3 separate regions of the Homo sapiens genome follow, and regions 1 and 3 are each linked to region 2. Evidence: promoter capture Hi-C in human tissues and cell types (Jung and others, 2019). All regions are on one chromosome and are shown on one strand. The core of a region is centred on a gene start or on the middle of the fragment in contact, and the rest is flanking DNA. Distances in the headings are between cores, read along the strand shown.

The links. The method cuts DNA at HindIII sites, captures the fragments that hold promoters and counts their contacts. A contact is called where the count stands out against the background at its distance.
Region 1: a contact is called between the fragment with the promoter of RASGRP2 here and the fragment with the promoter of KCNK7 in region 2, in 1 of the 25 tissues and cell types used here (spleen).
Region 3: a fragment that was not itself captured here is called in contact with the fragment with the promoter of KCNK7 in region 2 in 1 of the 25 tissues and cell types used here (stomach).

The regions. Positions count from the first base shown.
Region 1 is chr11:64,742,597-64,745,809 of GRCh38, forward strand. RASGRP2 (RAS guanyl releasing protein 2) reads right to left here and starts at 1,546. Exons shown (of 17, transcript NM_001098671.2): 1 at 1,407-1,546; 2 at 198-341. The coding sequence starts at 270. RefSeq lists silencers at 213-542, 853-902, 1,063-1,112, 2,103-2,212, 2,463-2,662. The HindIII fragment of the contact is 18,641 bases long and covers 1-3,213 here.
Region 2 is chr11:65,594,117-65,597,143 of GRCh38, forward strand. KCNK7 (potassium two pore domain channel subfamily K member 7) reads right to left here and starts at 1,684. Exons shown (of 3, transcript NM_033347.2): 1 at 1,338-1,684. The coding sequence starts at 1,656. The HindIII fragment of the contact is 18,543 bases long and covers 1-3,027 here.
Region 3 is chr11:66,123,119-66,126,519 of GRCh38, forward strand. All of the region lies in intron 1 of PACS1 (phosphofurin acidic cluster sorting protein 1), which reads left to right. Among named protein-coding and RNA genes, the nearest start is that of PACS1, 55 kb to the left of the region's middle. The HindIII fragment of the contact is 8,035 bases long and covers 1-3,401 here.

The DNA of each region.
Region 1 (3,213 bases), core at 296-2,795, 850 kb before region 2:
GGGAAACCTCATCTGTCTGAAGGGCGTGCATCTCTCTGCCCTGCGTTGCGGAGGAGGCTTTCGTTAAAGAGACTGCACGCTGCGGAGCAGGGTGGGTCCGGGTCAGGGCTGTGCCCTGGACTGTGCCTGGGAGGCAGGGACCCGGGCTCAGACTCGGGGCTAGGCTCAGGCTCCGTGTGCCCTCCCGAGCCACTCACCGAAGGCTTCGATGCACCCGCGGAGCAGCTCCTCCACCGTGCAGCCCTTGTCCAGGTCCAGGGTGCCTGCCATGGCCGCCGGCGCGGGGTGGGCTGGGCCCAGGCTGCGCTCCGGGAGCCTCCCACCGGGCTCGGACCGAACCCCTGTCCCGGGAGAGGCAGAGCGGGAGTCTGCGGAGTCGCGGGCGGGGGAGCGGCCCCGCGGGCAGAAACGGGGCGGGGCGGGCACGCCCCCTGCTGGACAGGGGCGGAGTTGTCCCCCGCGGCCACTCCCGGGGTTAAACGGTCTGGCCCGGGATGGTGCAACCCGCCAGTTGGGAAACGGACCCGCAGAGAGGCTTCCGGCCCACCCTCGGAGTCGCGGGAAGGCCGAGGGGCTTCACGAGGATGGGGACGAACCAAGATCCCAGGACTGGCTGGCGCCCAGCCCCCCGCAGGGCGCCTTCTCCTCGCGCCCTCTCCCCAGAGGCACCTGCAGCACCCCGCAGCTCGGCTCTGCGCCCCTCCCGCTTCCCTCCCTCCACAGCCTCCCTTCCCCCGCAGGGTTATTTTGGGAACCCAGAGCCTGAGGGGACCTCGGAGGAATTTCTCCCTGGTATGGGAGGTGGGGGGAGAGAACCCAGGCGTCCTGCCCGCCTCGCCCCCTCCCGGGAGCCCAGGAAGGCGAGGCGGGGCTGCGGCAGCCCCCAGGGGGCCTGCCCTAGGGGAGGCGGACTGGATGGGAGAGGAACATTCCTGGGGCGGGGGGAGCCCGCTGCGGCCAGGAGGCGTCAGCGGGAAGCCTGAGCCTGGGAACTGAGCGCTCCCAGGCCACCTCCGCAAAGGTCCCAGGGGTCCCGGCTCAGCTTGTCCACAGGCCCTCTTCCTCCCTATCCCCGGCTCCTGACCCTGGCCCCGGCCCCGCACAGGCGAACTGTGAGCGCGCACGGAGCAGGGTGTCCAGAGGGGGGCGCTCGCGCCAAGGGTGGCCGGTGGGTGCATGACACCATTAGCAACTCCGGTCACTGGCGGGGTCATACGCACCCTGGCAGGGGCAAACACTCCACACCCAAGTTATTCGTCGGAGGCCGGGGACCTAAGTGGAGGTGCAGGCGTCCGCACTTACACGCACCGGGCCACAGGCACCGGCCTCCCATCCTCCGTCTCTCACACACAATGGCACCCACACCCTGTGCACACCTGCACGAAGAAACCCTCAGGCACACATACCCAGCTCGTCCACCCCAGAATGCAAACCCGCGGACGAGGTCGCCTCCTGGACGTGCTGTTCACTTGAGCCAGGCCAGCCTTGAGTCCCGCGGCCACACAGGCGCTGACATCCTCACACGTGTGCACACACGCAAGGCAGTGCCTCTCCACGCATGTACACTCCCACACACATGCACACACCCCCATGGGTGCGCACGCCCATTCCGTCGCCCCCCTCCCATTTGCGGTGCAGGGCCCGCCCTGCGGCCCCAGCTCCCTGACTCCCCTCACTCCCAGATTTTGGCAGAGCCTTGCCCCACGGAAAGGTACCCCGGCCCTACACATACTCACTCCCCCAGGCTGGAGGACAGGGGAGCTCCTGTACGGAGTTCTCAGGCGGACTTTTCCTAAGAGCCACCCAGAGCCGTCCCCGCCTGGCTCTACCGCTTCCTCGTGTGACCTTGAGAATCACTTGGCCTCTGGGAGCCTCAATTTTCTCATCTGCCAAATGGGGGTACGCGGGGGAGGGCCCCGCTGGAAGGTGGCTGGGAAAAGCTGGGTGCACCGTGGAGGTCCTCCGCCCTCCGGGGATCCAGCGCGCCTTAGCTCTCGTGGCCGCTGCCCCCTCTCCCAGACCCGGGCCGCAGACTCCCCACCCGCTCGCCGCCCCCAGCCCGCCCGCGCCGCCCTGGGCGGGGGGGGAGTCGCTGGGGGCCGCGCCCTCCTTCGCCTGGCGCCCCGCCCGCGCTCGCCCACTCACTCTTGGGACCTGCCGCAAGGAGCCCGCACCGGCCTGGCCGACCCCACCTCCGTGCGCTCCCGCCCGCCGGCCTCGCTGCGGCTGCGGCTCCCGCCCGCTCTCCACGCCGCGGCCCCGCTCCCCGCCGCCCCGCCCCCGCCCCCGCGCCAGGCTGCCCCCTCCCCCCTCCGCCCCTGCGCGGAGCTCCGCACCGCCGGCTGCGCCACCCCCACCGGGGGCTCCCTCTCGCCCCGCACGCGGCGGTCCCTGCGGCAGCTTAACCCCTCCCCTGCCGCGCCGCCCGGGAGGCCAGGGCCGCGGGCGGGGGGCTGCGCCACTAGCTGCCCCGAGGGCGGGCGACCGGAGGCCCCGCCGCCCGGGACGCGGAGGGGGGACCGAAACGAAGAGCCCCTCCCCCAACCGCGGACGCCCCAGTGCCCCCCGCCCTGCCTGGGTGTCGGGCGGAGGAAGCCGGGAGGGGCAGGAAGCGGACTGCGGTGGGGAAGGGGCGCCCCGCCCAGCCCCCAGCTCGGGTTCCTGTTTTCGAGACAAACCGTTCCCATGGGGCTAACCCGGCCCGGGACCGGGCGTCTTCCTGCAGGCAGCGGGTGGCACAGGCCTAGTGGAGGTCGGGGGCGTGGGGACAGCTGGTCCTTGAGATAGTCTGGGGGATGGGCTAGGACAAGATGGGAATATTTTGGGGAGAGGGACCTGTGGGGAGCGAGGAATGAAATCGTGGCTATCTGGAGACGCGGCCTTGATGTCTGGGAATGGGGGCGGGGGGCCCAGTTCACACAGGAGGAACGGGGCCCCGGAAGCCTGGCTCCCCACAGGGTCGAATGGAAAGGGGCAGCCGCATGTGGCGGTGGGTTCTCCGCAGCTCGGAGACTGGAGACCTGGATGCCTGGCCAACAGGGAGGAACTTGGGAGGGGCAGCCGCAGGCGGTTGGGGTCCCCACTAGCCGGGCCTAGGAGAGCGGGTAACGGTTTCCGACCATTTGGCTTCAGACACACTCACTGTGAAACCACCGACCCCAAACCTCCCTTCCGAGGCGTGCCCCTCCCAGCCTTGGGGCGGGGGATCCAGGA
Region 2 (3,027 bases), core at 434-2,933:
TGGGACAATTCTGAGAACTGCGCTGCCCTTAACAGATACTCCCGATTCCACAGCTGGTGGAATATCATCCACTCTTTCCCCAAATGTGTGTCATGTCCTGTGTGCCAGGCTTTGTACTGGGATCTGAATCAGCCCAGGCCCTGCCCCTTCTGGTGGGGGAGTCGGGCAGGCAAATCATGAAGGGCTGCAAAGAGGCAGCATGGGCGAGAGAGGGCATGTGCCAGGCGGGGAGGGGTGGGAGTGCGGGGTGTGCTGGGAGAACAGGATCAGCTAATACAGAGCTGCAAACGCACATGCCTACCGGAGCCAGATGGGAGACAAACAGGAGTGGTGGGGACAGGGGTACACTGGAAAGTGTGAGCTGTATCCAAAGGGCAGGCCCCATTCTGCTCCAGTCAGGATGTTGCCTTGCAGGGATTCTGGCTCAGTGTGAGTGGGTTTCCTGATTTTCCAAAAGAAGTTGGAAATATGAGCTGGGCACAGTGGCTCACACCTGTAATCCCAACACTTTGGGAGGCTGAGGCAGGTGGATCACTTGAGGTCAGGAGTTTGAGAACAGCCTGGCCAACATGGCAAAACCCCGTCTCTACTAAAAACACAAAAATTAGCCGGGCATGGTGGTGCATGCCTGTAGTCCCAGCTACTCAGGAGGCTGAGGCAGGAGAATTGCTAGAACCCGGGAGGTGGAGGTTGCAGTGAGCCAAGATCGCACCACCGCACCCCAGCCTGGGTGACAGGGTCAGACACCGTTTCAAAAAAAAAAAAAGTTGGAAATACAAATTCCAATTCAAAAAATACTGAGACACTTTGTGGGGCAAAAAATACGAAAACCCAGGGCTGTGGGTCTCATTGCTGCTTTTCCCTGGGCCTGTGCCCACGCGATTTCTCTGCAGGACTCCCTCATCCCTGTCTGTGCCCTCCTGATCCACAAGCATCTCATGCCGACTTCCTCCCCTATCTTCCCTCACTCCCCCACCCGAGGCCATGGTCCTGATCTGTCCTTCCCAGGTTCATTCTATTTGCTTCCATCCAAGAATCCATCCCACTGTATTGTATCCCCTATCTGGCCACAGGCTGTGGCATCTGGGCAGCTCTCCTGGGTCTCAAAGGGTGCCTGGGGTGGGACTGGGGAGGCCACACCCTTCCTGGCAGTTGAAGTGGAGGCACCAGTTGGGGTGTGTTGGTGGGGAGCCCCAGCTGTGATGTCAGGCCTCACAGGGCCTGGGCTCCATCTGGCTCTTTGGGGCTGAAGGAAGGGCTGCATGAACCCCAAAGCCCCCAGGGAGCCATGGCCTCTTGGAGCCGCACCCCCCGACTTGGCTGCCTGGCTCTCTTACCTGTGGTGGTGAGGATGCTGGCAGCGAAGAGCAGGGCTGAGGGAAGGTCCCAGGTCCTGCCCTCTGAGCTGTTGCCCAGGGTGGAGACCCCATGGGCCTGGGTGGCCAGGGCAGTGCCCAGCAGCTCTTCCAGAGCTCCGGGTGGCAGGCAGGCCCTATGCTCTGCCTGGAAGGCTGCCAGCTCTGCCCTGAGCTCAGCCTGAAGCCTGCATGCAGGAGGCCCCTCCAGGGCCTGGAACACCACAGCCCCAAGCCCCAGGGCCAGCAAGTGGGCCACAACCAGGAGCCCGTATCGGGACCAGGGCCTTAGACCCCCCATGGCAGGCCGCTGGGGTGCTGTGGGAACTGGCGGCTCCACCTCAGGCACCTGGGAGGGGCTGGGCAGGGCGGGGCCAGGAGGAGGTGCTGTGTGGGTGGCTGGGACCCGGCTGGGATGGCTGGGGTGGCTGGGGTGTGAACAGGAGGGAGGTGAGCTGCATCACCCTTCCCAGGTCCTGGAGGCAAGACATTTGCCCATTTCACAGCAGCTGGGATGGTGGGGATGGGTGGAGGAAGGCGGCTGCGGTGAGGGGAGGAGGCGGAGGAAGCTGAAGCCTAGAGAGGACCTCACACTTATTCAAGGTCCTGCTCACTCAGGCACCCATACCACATTCATTCATTCATTCATTCATTCAAGTGCTTAGGGAAGAGGACAGGCACAGGTCCTTTCCTTCCTGGTGTTTACACAAGAAACCTCTTAGCAAAGAAACATGGCAACCTCACATTGTCATGAGTTCCATGAAGGAAACACCCTGGGTGATGGGAGAGCTCTGCGGGGAGCGGGGGGGTTATCTCACTGGGAAAGCTCTGCTAAGGAGGTGATATTTCAGCTGGGGAGTAAGAGGCCAGTGAAGGTAGGAATGAGCTTGGGGTGTGAGAGGAACAGAGGGCTGGCTGTGGCAGGGGAGAGTTGGGGGTGAAGGGGGGATAAGGACACAGGCCCTTGAGGATAAATGTGGTCCAGGGAGACCTACGCTGGGCTACTGTAGGCGTCATGGATGGAGTGATTTTGGCCTGGGTGGTGTGGTGGGAGAGGAATGGTGGCAGCTGGGAAGGATCAGGTGGGGGTGGGAGGTGGGGAGAGGACTCCAGGGTGCCCAGAGCACCCGGGCAGATGATACCCTTGCGCCCGATTGCCAGTTCTTCCTGAGAACGCTTTGTGCCTGCCCTCCTGACTCCCTGCCCCTGAACTGCAGACACAGAGTCTGGGCTGCCATGGGGCACCTGGGAGAGGGGAAGGGGGAGCCTGGGTTCCAACTCCTCTAACGTCAGAGGGGCTGAGGACAGAGGCCAAGGAAGGGACCCAGCCCTAGGGTATGGTGTGGGAGTGCCAGAGCCCCCATGGCAGTGTGAAGAGAATGGACAGAGGCCGAGGGAGGGACCCTGCCCTAGGGTATGGTGTGGGAGTGCCAGAGCCCCCATGGCAGTGTGAAGAGAACTGTCAGGGGTGCCAGATGCCATGGCAAGTCACCATACTGGGAGGTGGGTGGAACTTACTACTCTTTTTTTTGAGATGGAGTCTCGCTCTGTCGCCCAGGCTGGAGTGCAGTGGTGCAATCTCGGCTCACTCAACCTTCGCCGCCCGGGTTCAAGCTATTCTCCTGCCTCAGCCTCCCAAGTAGCTGGGGCTACAGGCACCTGCCACCACGCC
Region 3 (3,401 bases), core at 106-2,605, 530 kb after region 2:
ATCAACATTGAGGCAAGACCCTCCACCAGGAGAAAGATTGCAACTTGCAGAGGGCTCAGAAAATTGTTAGCTTTTTTTTTTTTTTTTTAATGAGACGGAGTCTTGCTTGGTTGCCCGGGCTAGAGTGCAGTAGCATGGTCTTGGCTCACTGCAACCTCCGCCTTCTGGGTTCAAGCAATTCTCCTGTCTCAGCCTCCCAAGTAGCTAGGATTATAGGCACGTGCCACCATGTCCAGCTAATTTTTGTATTTTTAGTAGAGACAGGGTTTTGCCATGTTGGCCAGGCTAGTCTTGAACTCCTGACCTAAGGTGATCCACCTGCCTCGGCCTCCCAAAATGCTGGGATTATAGGCGTGAGCCACCACGCCTGGCTCAATAAGCCATTTTTATTTTTTTATTTTATTTATTTATTTATTTTTTTGGGACAGAGTTTCGCTCTGTCGCCCAGGCTAGAGTGCTGTGGCGTGATCTCGGCTCACTGCAAGCTCCACCTACCGGGTTCATGCCATTCTCCTGCCTCAGCCTCCCAAGTAGCTGGGACTATAGGCACCTGCCACCGCGCCCGGCTAATTTTTGTTGTTTTTAGTAGAGGTGGGGTTTCACCGTGTTAGCCAGGATGATCTCGATCTCCTGACCTCGTGATCCACCCACCTCAGCCTCCCAAAGTGCTGGGATTACAGGCGTGAGCCACCGCACCCAGCCCATTTTTAAATTAAAGTATATACTTTTTTTTTTTTTAAGACAATGCTATTGCACAGTTGATAGACTACTGTATAGTGTAAACATAACTTTTATATGCACCGGGAAATAAATAATTTCATGTCACTTGCGTTATTGCAGTGGTCTGGAACTAAAGCCACAATATCTCCAAGGAACTGTTTACTTGCTGTCTCGCTATCAGACTGTGAGACTGTCAAGGGCAGGCATTCTGCGCAGCTTTGGCAATACCGTCTAGTTGTAAAAAAGACGGAACTGTTTCAGGCCATGGGCATTCTAGTGGGAAGACAAATATTTAATCTCAAGTGTGCAAAATGCTGCCATAGAACAGGAGTGCAGTGGAGCATAATAGGAGCTCTGGACCTTGTCTGAACACATAAAAGAAGCCTTTTTCCTAAGGAGTGATTGCTTAAGTTGAAACCTGAAGGATGTGTGGGAATTAGCTAAGTGAAGAGAAGGAAGAGTTCCAGGCAGAGAAAACTGTGGACATAATGGCTTTGGGCAAGTTACTCAGCTTCTTCTCTGCTTCAGTGTCTTCATCTATAAAATGGGAATAATATAACCTAGAGTTATATAGTTAGGGTTGTTGTGATCATAAAGACAGTATTTTAAGTCATCATCTTCTAATATTTCTGAAGTGGGGCATAATTGGTTCATTCAGGATAACTTCTGGGTCCACGTTTATGTATTGAATGGCTAAATGTATGGATCTGCTTACTGCACTTTAACCTTGTTCTTTACCTGCTCTGAAGCCTTTCTTGCATTTTAATGACAAGAACGGTGTATTTTGCCTTTCAGTGAGTTTGTTAATTATGGAGATCAAACTCTGCCTTTCATTACTGCATAAGTCTCATGGTGTGTCAGACATCTTAGGTCAGTGTGTGTCATCAGTTAGAATGCTTTCACCTTCAAGAAACAGAAAAGCCAGCTCAATGACTTAAACACACAGATGTTTATCATTTCAGAAAACAAAAGTCTGGGGCAAGGGTGAGTCCAGTGCTGGTTAACTGAGCAGCCTGGCAAAGGCATCAAGGAGCCAAGTTCATTTTGCCCTCCTGCTTTGTCATCCTCAGTACAGGCTTGCCCGCTGGCTCCCCATGGTCTCAGGTGGCCTGTCGCAGTTCCAGGTGCCACAGGGAGACACCAGAACATCCCATTGAGGAGGAGGAACTGTTTCTTTCCATGTCTGTCTCTTTATTGATGAACATTTGGGTGGCTTCCACCTTTTGTCCATTGTGAATAATGCTGCTATGAACATTGGTGAACAATAAATTCTTTTTAAAAATACAGCATCTAGGGGCTAAGCTATGAGGATGCAGAGGCATAAGAATGATACAATGGACTTTGGGGACTCGGGTGAAAGGGCAGGAGGCAGGTGAGGGATAAAATACTGCAAATTGGGTACAGTGTATACTGCTTGGGTGTTGGGTGCACCAAAATCTCAAAAACCTACGGAAATAAAAAATTAAAGTACCACATCAATTAATGCGTAGACCAAATCTTATTGCAATTAAATTTCTACTTTTAGCATCATTTGCTACAATGAAGTTCTAGTATTTGAAATATTTTGAGCCACTGACTTGCTGTTTAATGGGATTTGATCCCATAGTAAAGAAGATATAAACCAAGTAAGTCAAAAGGATCTTAGAAGCAATTTTATTCCATCCTCTATTTTGAAGATGTTCTGGATTCAGAGTGATTTTCCAGGGTCAGAGAGCTAAGTCATGTTAAATAATTCAAAGTGTATGAAAATACACATTACTCACAGATTCAAGTAGAGTAACCAGGGGTGTCTTTTGCCTCTAGTCTTACTCTAACCAGTGTCTAACTATGCCTGTGTAGATAAAATAAAATAGAAAACTGGGATAATTCAGGTATTCAAGTAATTGAAGAAAATCAGTCCTGTTTAAAATATCTGGGCAGGCCGGGCATGGTGGCTCATGCCTGTAATCCCAGCACTTTGGGAGGCCGAGGCAGGCAGATTACTTGAGGTCGGGAGTTCAAGACCAGCCTGGCCAACATGGTGAAACCTCGTCTCTACTAAAAATACAAAAATTAGTCATGCATGGCGGCGCATGCCTGTAATCCCAGCTACTCGGGAGGCTGAGGCAGGAGAATTGCTTGAGTCCAGGGAGCAGAGGTTACAGTGAGCCGAGATTGTACCATTGCACTCTAGCCTGGGTGACAGAGCAAGACTCTGCCTCAAAAAAAAAAAAAAAAAAATGTGGGCAACTCTAATACTTAGCTTTTAGGTATTTGCTTCAGTAGTCCACTTTATGTGTTAGTGTTCGACATTACTAGTGGGATTTTGCTTCTCATGCTCTATTTTCTGATTTCTATCACCAGTGGTTTCATAGTTGTATACAGTAATCTCTGGTTAGAGACAGAGGCAGTGGCCTGCTGGGGAACACACCAGACGGAAAGTGAGAGTTCCTTGTTTTGGGCTTTACTTTGCCCTTGACTTCCAGTAATCAGGGTGTTTCCTTGTTCTGAAACACGCTTGTGTTAGTCACAACAGGTTCACAACTGGCAGACAGGTAATCCCTGAACAAGTAAATCCCAGTGGAACCAGAAAACTGGGTCTTGTTTTCCTTAATTGGAACCTGACTTAGAATCAGCTATTGAACTGGGAAACAAACAAAAAATAAGTGTTAGCCATTAGAAAATGAATTTAAATTACTGGT